4 separate regions of the Homo sapiens genome follow, and regions 2, 3 and 4 are each linked to region 1. The links are contacts of gene promoters, found by promoter capture Hi-C in blood cells and fetal thymus (Javierre and others, 2016). All regions are on one chromosome and are shown on one strand. Each heading gives the region's core, a stretch centred on a gene start or on the middle of the fragment in contact. The rest is flanking DNA. Distances are from core to core; before and after follow the strand shown. Region 1 holds the start of ZBTB20 (zinc finger and BTB domain containing 20). Region 2 overlaps RMP64 (ribonuclease MRP subunit p64). Region 3 has its middle 6.4 kb from the start of GTPBP8. Region 4 overlaps ATG3 (autophagy related 3).

The links. The method cuts DNA at HindIII sites, captures the fragments that hold promoters and counts their contacts. A CHiCAGO score of 5 or more calls a contact.
Region 2: a fragment that was not itself captured here is called in contact with the fragment with the promoter of ZBTB20 in region 1 in 1 of 17 cell types (neutrophils); the score reaches 5.2 in neutrophils.
Region 3: a contact is called between a fragment that was not itself captured here and the fragment with the promoter of ZBTB20 in region 1, in 1 of 17 cell types (neutrophils). The highest score is 5.2, in neutrophils.
Region 4: a contact is called between a fragment that was not itself captured here and the fragment with the promoter of ZBTB20 in region 1, in 1 of 17 cell types (neutrophils). The highest score is 5.5, in neutrophils.

The regions. Positions count from the first base shown.
Region 1 is chr3:115,145,595-115,148,769 of GRCh38, forward strand. ZBTB20 (zinc finger and BTB domain containing 20) reads right to left here and starts at 1,694. Exons shown (of 12, transcript NM_001348800.3): 1 at 1,625-1,694. RefSeq lists enhancers at 370-479, 2,210-2,419 and silencers at 1,160-1,429, 1,740-1,909, 2,470-2,689. The HindIII fragment of the contact is 9,545 bases long and covers 515-3,175 here.
Region 2 is chr3:113,008,246-113,011,157 of GRCh38, forward strand. RMP64 (ribonuclease MRP subunit p64) reads right to left here. Exons shown (of 9, transcript NM_015412.4): 6 at 2,800-2,912; 7 at 2,398-2,459; 8 at 1-185. Among named protein-coding and RNA genes, the nearest start is that of NEPRO-AS1, 9.8 kb to the right of the region's middle. The HindIII fragment of the contact is 1,251 bases long and covers 1,038-2,288 here.
Region 3 is chr3:112,983,077-112,986,079 of GRCh38, forward strand. No RefSeq gene overlaps it. Among named protein-coding and RNA genes, the nearest start is that of GTPBP8, 6.4 kb to the right of the region's middle. The HindIII fragment of the contact is 1,215 bases long and covers 648-1,862 here.
Region 4 is chr3:112,554,417-112,557,701 of GRCh38, forward strand. All of the region lies in intron 2 of ATG3 (autophagy related 3), which reads right to left. Among named protein-coding and RNA genes, the nearest start is that of ATG3, 5.9 kb to the right of the region's middle. The HindIII fragment of the contact is 3,918 bases long and covers 1-3,285 here.

The DNA.
Region 1 (3,175 bases), core at 444-2,943:
CTATTCCCCCACACCCAAAATATTTTTGATCTGCAGCTGGTTAAATCCACAGATGCAGAACCCAGGCACAGGAAGGGCTGACTGTATGTGACCGGGAGTGGAGGGGGATCTATATAAATATTTCCACAAAATAGCAAAGGGTACTTGGGATTGGGAGCATGAACAGAAATGAAAACAAACCATTATAAATTTAAAGATGACTGGTTATCACTTAAATTTAGTGTCTACAGCTATTTATTTATAAAATGGTAATTGTGTTTTAAAACTTTCAATGGCAACAAGTTACAACAGTAACTTCAGAATAGCGTTCACTTGAAAACATTGGGTGAATGGCCTCTATAATTTTTTTAGCTGAAATGTATACACCGCCACGCAGTGAGGAAACTTGACTTTAGCACCCTTTTGGTATTTTTAATAGAAAAAACAGTGGAGAAGATTTTCACATGTCTAGAAAGGTAACATGTTCAACTTAGGTTTGGCCAATGCTGATTCTGAGGACAGTACTACACCCGCAAGCTTCCAAACTACTTCCTGATTCATTCAGATTTTCATTGGAGAGCTGTCATCCTGCTACTGACCTCATTCAACCCAGTTCGGAGTGAGAGATCAGCGGATTACCGCGCTAGGTACCGTAGCTGTACGCCATATTGTGTTTTTCGCTAATGTTTAGTTTGTGTGTGTGCCTAGCATATGTTTGTGCAAGTGTGTTTATCAATAGAACTTTTAGAAAATCCCTGCCTCCTGCCTCTTCAGCATCCTTAAAAAGGATAACAGCTGGGGGCGGGGGGTGGGGGGAGGACCCAAAAGCCACACAGACAGGAATACATTAAACAGTGTACGAGAGACGGCATTTGTTTTAAACTTTCAAGAACCTTCCAACCATTTTTATATCAGGAATCAAAAAGTGTTAACATGTTTTAATGTTTCCGAAGTGGCCCAAAGAAGAGAAAGAAGGAAAGGTGTGTCTTCCCTTCCCAAGCCCCCTCCTCTCTAGTCGTAGAAGCGAAGCAGGCGGGGGCCGGGAGCTCCGGCGTCTGGAGAGACATCCAGCGGCTGTGGGGCCAGGACACCTCCTGCCCCCCAGTTCTCTGAAGACGCTCCAGAGACCGCGAGAGCCACGGCAAGCGGGGGAGGGCGAGGAGGGAGGGGGCAGAAGACAAGCGGGCGCCTCTAGCAGCTCCTGAGCCCCGGCTAGTCCCCCTCAGCTCCTCTTCTTGGAAGCAGCGGCTCCAGGCGCAGGGAGTAGAGAGAAGAAGGCAGAAGACACGTTTCCAGCTGCGGGACGTCCCGCCCGCCCCGCCACCCTTCGACCCTCCCGCGCCTCCCTCCCACCTCCCCGCCGGGTCGGGCGAGGCAGCCGCCGGGCGCTAAGAAGGGCGCCGGGGGAGGGGGCGCGGGCGGGGCGGGGCGGGGCGGGGCGCGGGGGCGCGCGCGCTCATCCAGCTCAGGGCCCGCTGGCTCGCCGCTCTGTAACTCGCTCCCCCAACCCCACCCCGCTCCCCTCCTTCCCAGTCCCGCCGCCCCCCACTCCAGGCGCCTCGCAGACGCCTCATCCCCCTCGGCACGCACACACTCCTCCCTCTCTCCCGCCCGTCCCACAACAAATTAGAGTTTGTGGCATTACCTCCTCGCGCTCTTTAATCTTCTTTCCTCAACTCCTAAACTTCCCCCCGCCCCTACTTCTTCGGCAGAAGGCCCACATTGGACGCTTCACTCCGCGAACCCTCTATCTCTCCCCGCTATAGGATAGCTCTCACGCCAATCTTGGCTTCAGTGAGCCAATGAGAATGGGACGCCCCTCGTGAGGTTGCCGCCCATAAACAAAATGCACTCTTCCTTCTCCCCTCCGCCCCCCCGTCCCCGCCCCTTTCTTCCTCTTCCCTCATCTCTGTCACCTTCGATTGGGCTAAAAGAGGCCCAATCCGCTATCTCAAACATCCATTGGGACGCGGAAACTTCGCTCAGAGAAGTATTAACAGGCGATTGGTGGACAATCCTTCCACTTCGCCCACCCCCACAACCCCCTCCCCCCGCCGCACCTTCACCCTTTCTGAAAAGGTCAATCGTATCTCGTTGTTCAGTGATCCGGGAGGTGGAAGGCTATTGGTTCAGGGAGCCCGTCAGACCGGACTGGAGTGAGCCATGATTGGTCGACACAGGCGCAATCAGGTTAGGTTGCTTACTCCTCCGCTCCTCCCTCCTTTTCCTCCACGCCCCATCTCCCCCACCCCCTACTGCTTTTACTTTCTACGCATTTCTATTTCCTCCTTTATTTATTTATTTGTGATAAACTTAAATGACCCGGCGACGGAGGCGGTACTCTAGGAGAAGGCTGAGGATGACGAGCGGCGGCCTGGGGCCAATTGCCGAGAGGGCTGCGGGGTGAGGGGCAGCGGCGGTGGCCAGTGAGAGGCAGGTGTCTGGAGCGCGCTGGGCCTGTGGAGCCGGGATGCCCCAGCGGAGGCGGCGGTTACCCGCTGTCTGGCGCGGCGAGCTGCGCCGGGGGAGCCGCGGGAGCGGAGAGGGGGGTGTCGCTGTCTTGGACAGCTGAGGCAGCGGGATGGAGGCTGGATCCCGGGCGGTGGGTGGGAAAGCCGGAGGGAGGGTCTGGCTGGCGGCAGCGCGCAAGGCCGCACCGGGTCACGCTTGATTCCCGCGGAATGGGGCGCAGGTTGCCAGACCGGGTCCCCAGTGCTAGGGCTCAAGGAAGAATTTGTTCATGCAGAAGATTTAGAAAAATACTATGTAAAAGAGTTTGGAGTAAGCCTCCCTTAATATAAATGAGATTTATTATCCTGCCGGAAAAAGCAGATTATGTTTCTTATTACTGAACGCCTGAAGTACCAACGACTCAACCAGAGCCCACAGAATTCAATATCCTGGGTGGTAAAAGGAACAAATAAAGCAACACGGAAAATTAAGTGTGGTTCAAATGCTTCAATAAAATCTTCGTCCTCAACCATTTGTCATTCAACATAGCACTCCCCAGAGCCAAATTCTTACCAAATATTGGTCCAGTACTCAGGCATTGGAGAAAAAAATGAGGCTGAAGTCCAGCAGGAAGCCCAGGATAGATTCCTAAAAAGGATTTCTTACAAGGGCCAAGATGGGAGGGTTGGGGAAATCGCTTTTCACTATACAAAGAAAAAAAAATAATTACTGCCAAACTAAGTTG
Region 2 (2,912 bases), core at 413-2,912, 2.1 Mb before region 1:
TTGAGTTTTTTGCTCCTGCACCATACAACTGCCATCTGGATTTCTTCAGAAAGTTGTGTGAAGGACTCAGCCTCTCGGAATCTTTGCACAAAACTTTTGGCATGAGGAGTTCCTATCACTTTCTGAGAAGAATACTTGGTTGTCTTTAGTCTGGATTGAGAACATTTAAAATCAAAACTGGTCTCCTGAAACGTGGAAAGATGAGAAAAATATATTGGACATGTTACTGACTTGTAATTATATGACAACAAGGAAAGCTAGCTCACAATCAAAATTTAAAAATTAGAATTATCAGTCCCTAAATGCTTGAAGTGATGGATACCCCATTTACCCTGTGGTTATTATGCACTATATGCTTATAACAAAATACGTACCCCATAAATATATATACCTGCTACGTACCCACAAAACCTAAAAATTAAAAAAAAAAAATCAGTCTGTAAGGAAATTTTTTTGCTCACTAAGCTTTCCTTATGTCTTTAAAAACTGAATTTTTCTCCACTGCTCCAAATACAAGTTGTTTTGTTCCCCCTCTGTACCAGGACAGGTCCCATCTGCAGCTGAATTAGATTGACATAGGAAAGTTAACATAAATATCCTAACACACATATCTCACATACACAATAAAAAAACCCCACATGATTAAATACTGGTCAAAGCCTAATTGCAGAGGGTTGGGGGATCACTGAAAGGCCCCTCTTCGCTACACCACCAGATTATCACGACTTGTTTTTCACTTATTTCCGTATCCTGGGCAAACCTCCTCAATTTAGAAATGTTTCTGAAAACAGGGAAGATATGGGGCCCTGCAGAGTGCCCAGCAGAATAAGCCCATTAATCAGTTAATGCCTGCTGAATATCTATTAAAAATGCTCAATTGAGCAACACTTCCAATTCTACTTCAACCATCTTCTGACAAGGCACCTTTACTTCTTCAACCCCTTCTTTCTATATCAAGTCACATTTGGATTTTACTAACGTTTACTATTTCTTTATGAAAATATGCTGCCTACGAGATGATCTGCTCTTTCATTCAAAGCTTACCTTCTTCCAAATTTCTTACACTCAAAAGGAACTTTAAAAAAAAGTAGAAAATATAAAAGTAATGACCCAGGTCAATAGTTTATGTTTGGTGATCAATAGAAGTAGTTTGCTTTAAAGCTAAGCAAGTTAGTGCTATTTGCTAAAAATATAGTAGCAGTTAGTTTTGAGTAAGAGGGATGCTGACCCACCAACTTCAAAGCCAGCTCACCTACAAACAGGTGCACAGGCTGCAGAAGTTTCAAGGTTCACAAAGCACCATAGTTCTTGAGATACAGTTGAAAAACTGTTCTGGGGACTGGTGAATAGTAAAGAAGAAAGACTATGAAACCATACTGCCTGCATTCAAATCGCAGCTCTACCATTTATTCACTATGTGGCCTGGCAGTTTCTTGGCCTTTCTATGCCTCAGTTTCCTCATCTGAAATATGAAAACAGTAATAAGCATGCCCACCTCACAGAGCTTTTGTGATATAATTACATGACTTCATGCATATAAAAGCACTTAGAACAATGCCTGGCACAGAAAGTATTACTCCTCACTCTGAATTCATAAATTGGACAGAACATCAATGGAAGCTGGAGTCCTTAAGTTCAAGAAAATATGTTTAAGAATTCTTAAATAAAAGAAGTAAACTAACCCATGAAAAATACCAGAAGTAGACATTTTGCAAAGACAGGGTTAAAAAAAAAAAAAAGTCAAGTTACTGAGTAAAACAGTAATGCCGATGTACTTATATGCTGTTAGGTCCAGAACAAACAGAATTTACAGACATTAATCAATCATGTTAAAACTTGAACCTCAACAGGAGTAAAGGAATAGCTTCATGACAAAATGATGAGGATGATGACCAAAATGACCGTAGCTAATAACATCTAACTCCAATTAAATGCTTACCATACTCCAGACTACCGAACGCTTTACATGCATTAAAACTAGCACAACCCTATGAGGCACATATTACTATTACAAAATAGAGGTACGGAGAGATCAGGAAACTCACAGAAGGTCACACAGCTAGTACCAAAGCCAGGATTCAAACCAACTGTCTGACTGCAAAGCCTATACTCTTAAGCTGCAGTACAATCCATACTTAACAACAGATCTTACGGTTACTTTAAAATTCTAGAGAAACTCCTACTAAAATATTTCTGAAGGTACTCTATTAACTGAATTAACTAGATGTATTAAAAATCCCTTGCCTCTATTCATTCAGAAGCACACACTGACAACTAAGAAGGCACTAAGCTTAGAGCTGGGGATAAAATGAAAAGATTCAATCTCTGCCCTTGGTAAGAAGCATCCTCTACAAATTAGCAGAAATCATAAGCTAAATTTAATGAAGCCAGACAAACCTGAGTAGCTTTGTGTTTCAGCTGGTTGCAGAAAGCCCTCACATCAAATTCTGATGACTCTTCTGTGGAGGTGGAAAAATTGCAGATACAAAACCTTAGGCATACTATTTTCAAATCTACAACAAATTCTTAAGTGCATGACATTTCTTGCCAAATTACCACAAAATAAAGGAATAAAGCAAGCAAATAACTAGGAAGCAACTACAGAAACAAATAAACAACTTAAAGTACTCAAGCTTAGAAAGCACAGGTATTACCATACCTCTCTAATCAATATGAGTCAAAATTAAGATGTGAGATGTTGAATTTCTTTCTATGCAATGCATGACTATTACTTTCAAAAGGTTTCTTTTTATTTGTTTTTTGTTTTACTAGAGTATGTGCTGTATCAAAGCAAATTACCTTTGAAGACTCTCTTATTCTTTACTGGCTGTCCAAGATCCACATTATTCTGTACATTGATCTTCATTTGTTTAGCTTTTTTTGAAATTCCAAGCAAGGTTTCTTCACTGGCT
Region 3 (3,003 bases), core at 5-2,504, 2.2 Mb before region 1:
CTCTGCTTCCTAGTCAAAGTATCTTTAATTCTGGAAATTTTCAGCAAATTTCCTCCTTTTACTTCATTTTTTTCAAGTACTCCTATAATATTGTTTGGTTTGCTTTTGTTTTGTGTTGTTTTGTTTTTTGAGACAGAGTTTTGCTCTCTCACCCAGGCTGGAGTGCAGTGGTGTAATCTCAGCTCACTGCAATCTCTGCCACTCAGGCTCAAGAAATTCTCATGCCTCAGCCTCCCAAGTAGTTGGGATTGTGGGCGTGCACCACCATACCTGGCTAATTTTTTGCATTTACAGTAGAGAAAGGGGTTTCATCATGTTAGCCAGGCTGGTCTCCTACTCCTGGCCTCAAATCGATCTGCCCACCTCGGCCTCCCAAAGTGCTGGGATTACAGGACCAAGCCACCATGCCCAACTCTTACAATACTGTTATTTAAATTTCTTCTTTTCACCTTCGCAGCTCTTAACTTTTAAATTCTTTATATTTTTTATCCCTTCCTAATATTTATTGAAATATTCTCCAATCTAATTATCCTGCTATTTTGTTCTTTGAGTTGATAATATTATTCAACTATTAAACACATCCATTGAGAAATTTACTTCACAATAATATAATTCATATCTAATATGTTCAACTGGTACTTCTTAGAAGCTTCCTGTTTCATGTTTGCCATATATTCCCTTATCTCTGAGGATATTTTCTGTTTTTATTTAAATTCTTTGCCCACCAAGTCCATTCATTCTGATTACTTCTAGAATGAATTATCTTTTTCTTACTTTTTCTTCTATTGCTTGTGGGTTCATAATGTGAGTTCGTGAGATTATACTATTATGGTAAAATCAGCTATCTTTTAAAAAAAATCAGCTATCTTGGTAAATAACAGATACCTAGAGAGAGGAGTGAAAGGCTAGGTTCTGACTTGCACTAGTCTAGGCAGAAGAGAGATATATCACAGCATTCTGGGCTCAACCACTCGTGCGCCTGCCACCCATGAGATCCTGCCTATTAGGTAACCACCTAGTACCACTACACCAGGCATTATTCCTTTCTAGAGAGTAATCACAAAACATTGTTTGAATCTGATTGTCCAGCCCCTAGAGGAGGATGGGTAAGGAGGTTGGAGGGAATGTTCAAGGACATTGCTGCACTCAACTCCAGCTAAACCTGATGTTCATACCAGTTGAATCACCAATTCATTGCACTCCTCTCCAGAGGCCCCATACTTTATTACAGGTGGCTGAGACAGCAGCTTTGATTATAACCTCCTTCCACAGGAAGAATTCTAGTTTTGCCATGTCCTATTAAAATGACTAGAGAAAGTCTGTCCCACTTTTCTCAAAAATCTCCAGAGAAATCACTTGTATTTAGAGCAGAACCTGGAATACATCTTTCCTACAAGTATACAATCTCACAATAAGTGCAGGTGAGAAACTTCTCATTTTTAAATGTTTTTATCTTTTAATCTATGTGCAGAAAACAGTTCATATAGCAGGCCTGTGGCTGCTACCCTTAGAAAGATTTGTTTACAAGATTGGCACTGGGCTGACATTTGAGAACTTGACTGGTAAACAGTTTCCTTGCATGGCACAGAGCCAACTTTCCATTCATGAGTGGCTCACTGTATCTAAACTATTTGAACAAACAAGTGGTACATACTGATGCTGCTTTCCTTCTGCAAATCTGAACTTTCAGTGACTATAGTCAGTCACACAGGCACTAGATGCCTATATGAACAGCGCTCGGTAAAAACCCTGGACTCCTAGACTCAGGTGAGCTTTGCTAGTAGACAACATTTCACACATGTTGTTAAAACTCATTGCTGGCAGAATTAATTGCATCCTGTGCAACTTAGGGGACAATTAGAAGCTTGTGCCTGGCTTCCTCCAAACTTCACTTTGAGTGCCTTTTCCCCTTGCCAGGCTTGCTTTGTATTCTTTTGTTGTTGTAAATTATAGGCATAAGTACAACTATATGCTGAGTTCTGTGCATCCTTGCTCGCCTCATTTGGGAGCTAGTCTTGGGAACACCTGACACACTCTACCTATGAATAAGTTAAAAATTTGAATATACATCAATATATCTGCCTGTGAATGTTGCCTCATCTCCTCAGGGTGTTAGAGAACATTCCATTCACTTCCAACAAGGCAACAAGATATAAACTAGATGTGTACTACAAAGTAAACTTGCCCACTAAAATAACCTTGCTTAACACACAACAAGAATTAAAATGTTAACGAATTAATCAGTCAGAACAGCAAAATCCATACTATTTTCCAAAAACAATTTTAAAAAAACCCTCTGAGCTTGTTACTGATATAAAAACACAACCTGAATATGGTAAATAGTGTTCCAAATTATTTTAATAGCACTTGTATGACACAGAGCCAAATGCAAAATTACGAATGAAAAAAATTAAGACCACTTAAAGCAATCATTTCTCCCTCTATTGATAAAAACAACCTTGAAAGAAGTGAACCTTTACTCCTCCTCCAGAATCCAAATCACTCTACAAACTCACCTCCTACCTATGATTACTGTCTGATGGTTAATCTCCAGATCTCTTTAGAGAAATCTGTCAGTGCAGTAGGCACAACCTTAAAAGAAAGCTCAAACAACTTCTCTGAAAAAGAAACAACTTCTCTAAATTTAGATATATTCTCTAAAGACACATTAATCAGATATTTAAAAAGCTCAATGCTTTCATGAGCTCCAAAGACTAAAATCATGGAAAATAGGTCTCTATTGGTTCTTGAATTATAGTAAAATAATAAATCTCAAGAATAATAATTTATGCCCTAATTAAGAAATTAAGCCTGGGCGTGGTGGCTCATGCCTGTAATCCCAACATTTTGGGAGGCTAAGGCAGGATGATTTCTTGAGGCTAGGAGTTCAAAACTGACCTCAGCAACATAGTGAGACTCTGTCTCTCCAAAAAAAAAAAGCACACACACACAAAAAAACTTTGTAAAATTAGCCAAGGGTGGTTGAGTGCCTGTCGTCTCAGC
Region 4 (3,285 bases), core at 209-2,708, 2.6 Mb before region 1:
CCTTGAGAATGTATTTTGTGCCATCCACCCCCTGCCCACAAAACATTGCTCCTAACTCCACTGCCTATCCCAAAATCTATAAGAACTAATGATAATCTCACCATCCTTTGCTCTTTTCGGACTCAGCCCGCCTGCACCCAGGTGAAATAAACAGCCTTGTTGCTCACACAAAGCCTGTTTGGTGGTCTCTACACATGGACGCATGTGACACCCACATACTTGCCAAATTACTTCTATTTTGCAACAGCTCTAGCTTAAAATCTTGTATTGTTCATGGGTTTACTACACAGCAAAAAATTACAAAATATTTAATCTCTAATACCTTTGAGAAAGTATGCCTATATAAAATACTCTAGTTTAATTTGAGCATATAATTCTATCAAATAAGAATTCTAAGAATAACCTCTTTTAAGATGAAACATTAACAAGATATAGCAACTGGATTCCTGATAGAAACTTTATGTTTCTGTTCTTTTACTTCGAATAACCTTATTATTTAAACAGCCTAAGTAAAGACAAAAACCAAAATAAAAACAATAGTCTCTTCCCCAAATTTTGAGCACTTCGAGCTCATTGCAACCAGATGCTACATTTAGCTCTGTGGTTATCAGGAACTAATTTATTACCATTAAAAGTAATAATTTAACTAAATGAAAGCAAAATAATTAAAAATAAAAAATTCTTTCATTGTATTGCCTTGAGGTAACAAGACTAACATTTTATCTCATAGTCCCTATAGTATCTTCTATTTAAAAACAAGAACACTAGGAGGCAAGAAAAACGAAAAACAAAAAACAAAACAAAAAAAACACAGACTCACACTGATAATACATGTGTACATCTGCCCTCATTAGCAATGGCCATCATAACTTGCTTCACGTGTTCAAATGATGCAAGATTCAAATTTCTAAATGATCAATATTGCTTGCAATAGCTTTCTCTTAGAGACTAAAAATGTTCTCTTATTATCTTTATTATCAGTATATAATACTGACCAACTCCAACAAGAATCAATATTTACACCTTGGTGAGCAATTCCATTCCTCAAGCTAACCTCAATTAATAGTATTCTACTTAAACAAGTCATACATACATCCAACATTAGTTTTTTCTTTGTTTTTTGACAATACAGTATCAGATACTAGCTGCCCCTCTTTTTAAGCACAATACTGCCACACCTCTGAATGAAAACAAAAAGATAGCTGATGTCTGGCAGAAACTCAGAAACAGCAAGATGAAACAAATGAACAAATCAACTCAGTATATAATATTTACACAAAGCAAATGATGCCTTCCCATTTCCTCCTCCAGGCTCATTCTACTCTAACTCAATCCTGTAATTGTGCTCTATCCCAACCCTGCATTATGTAATAGACAGCCAGCTGGGCTAATTTGGCCTTGGATTTTTTTAGAGAGGAAAATTCATAAATTGATTGATGTTGTAATTAAGTGTAACAGTTATTTATTCTAGGATGAATTCCTGTTTTGAAACTGCTTAATTCTATCCAATGACCACAGACTTTGCATCTCTAACTGCAACTATATATTCAACAATTAGTCATCTTCACAGAGGAAATAAAACCAAAGAGTGCAATAAGAACAGCATACTTTCATCTCCGCTCTTGATTTCAGATAAAGAGCCATGTTCAAATTACACCTCTGTTTGGCAAGAATGTTAATGATATCCTTAAAATCAAAACTTAGTTTTATTTGGCATTTGAGGTAATAAAACCTAAGGCAGAATAGGATCTTTACAGAATGTCTAGCCCACAACCGTTATTTTATAGATGAGGAAACATGAAGCCTCGGCAGGGATAGTTTAACTGATTTCCTCATTAGGAGAAATTACCGTCCCGTCCGGGAGGTGAGGGGCGCCTCTGCCTGGCCGCCCCTACTGGGAAGTGAGGAGCCCCTCTGCCCGGCCGCCCCTACTGGGAAGAGAGGAGCCCCTCTGCCCGGCCAGCCGCCCCATCCGGGAGGGAGGTGGGGGGGTCAGCCCCCCGCCCGGCCAGCCGCCCCGTCCGGGAGGTGAGGGGCACCTCTGCCCGGCCGCCCCTACTGGGAAGTGAGGAGCCCCTCTGCCCGGCCACCACCCCGTCTGGGAGGTGTACTCAACAGCTCATTGAGAACGGGCCATGATGACAATGGCGGTTTTGTGGAATAGAAAGGGGGGAAAGGTGGGGAAAAGATTGAGAAATCGGATGGTTGCCATGTCTGTGTAGAAAGAGGTAGACATTGTAGACTTTTCATTTTGTTCTGTACTAAGAAAAATTCTTCTGCCTTGGGATCCTGTTGATCTGTGACCTTACCCCCAACCCTGTGCTCTCTGAAACATGTGCTGTGTCCACTCAGGGTTGAATGGATTAAGGGTGGTGCAAGATGTGCTTTGTTAAACAGATGCTTGAAGGCAGCATGCTCGTTAAGAGTCATCACCACTCCCTAACCTCAAGTACCCAGGGACACAAACACTGCGGAAGGCCACAGGGTCCTCTGCCTAGGAAAACCAGAGACCTTTGTTCACTTATCTGCTGACCTTCCCTCCACTATTGTCCTGTGACCCTGCCAAATCCCCCTCTGCGAGAAACACCCAAGAATGATCAATTAAAAAAAAAAAAGAAATTACAGAAATAGGTCTAGAAGGCAGGTCTCCTAGGTTATTTCCATACTACCATGTGTCTTCACCAAAAACAAAAGACAATTTTAGAGAAAAGATTAGTTATGCAAACCATTTTTTTTTTTCAGACGGAGTCTCGTTCTGTCGCCCAGGCTGGACTACAGGCGCCCACCATCACGCCCCGCTAATTTTTTATATTTTTAGTAGAGACGGGGTTTCGCCCTGTTAGCCTGTATTCCGCCTGCCTCTGCCTCCTAAAGTGTTGGGATTACAGGCGTGAGCCACCACGCCCAGCACAGAAACCATTCTTAAAACTCACAAGGAGCCGGGCGCAGTGGCTCAAGCCTGTAATCCCGAGGCAGGCGGATCACGAGGTCAAGAGGTCGAGACCATTCTGGCCAACATGGTGAAACCCCATCTCTACTAAAAGTACAAAACTTAGCTGGGCGTGGTGGCGCTCACCTGTATTCCCAGCTACTTGGGAGGCTGAGGCAGGAGAATTGCTTGAACCCAGGAGGCAGAGGCTGCAGTGAGCCAAGATCGCGCCACTGTGCTCCAGCCTGGTGACAGAGGGAGACTCCGTCTCAAGAAAAAAAAATTAAAAAAACCACAAAGATTTGGAACTAGACAAATTCCATCACAACTGAAAATTGAAAGATCAGTTAATTCTC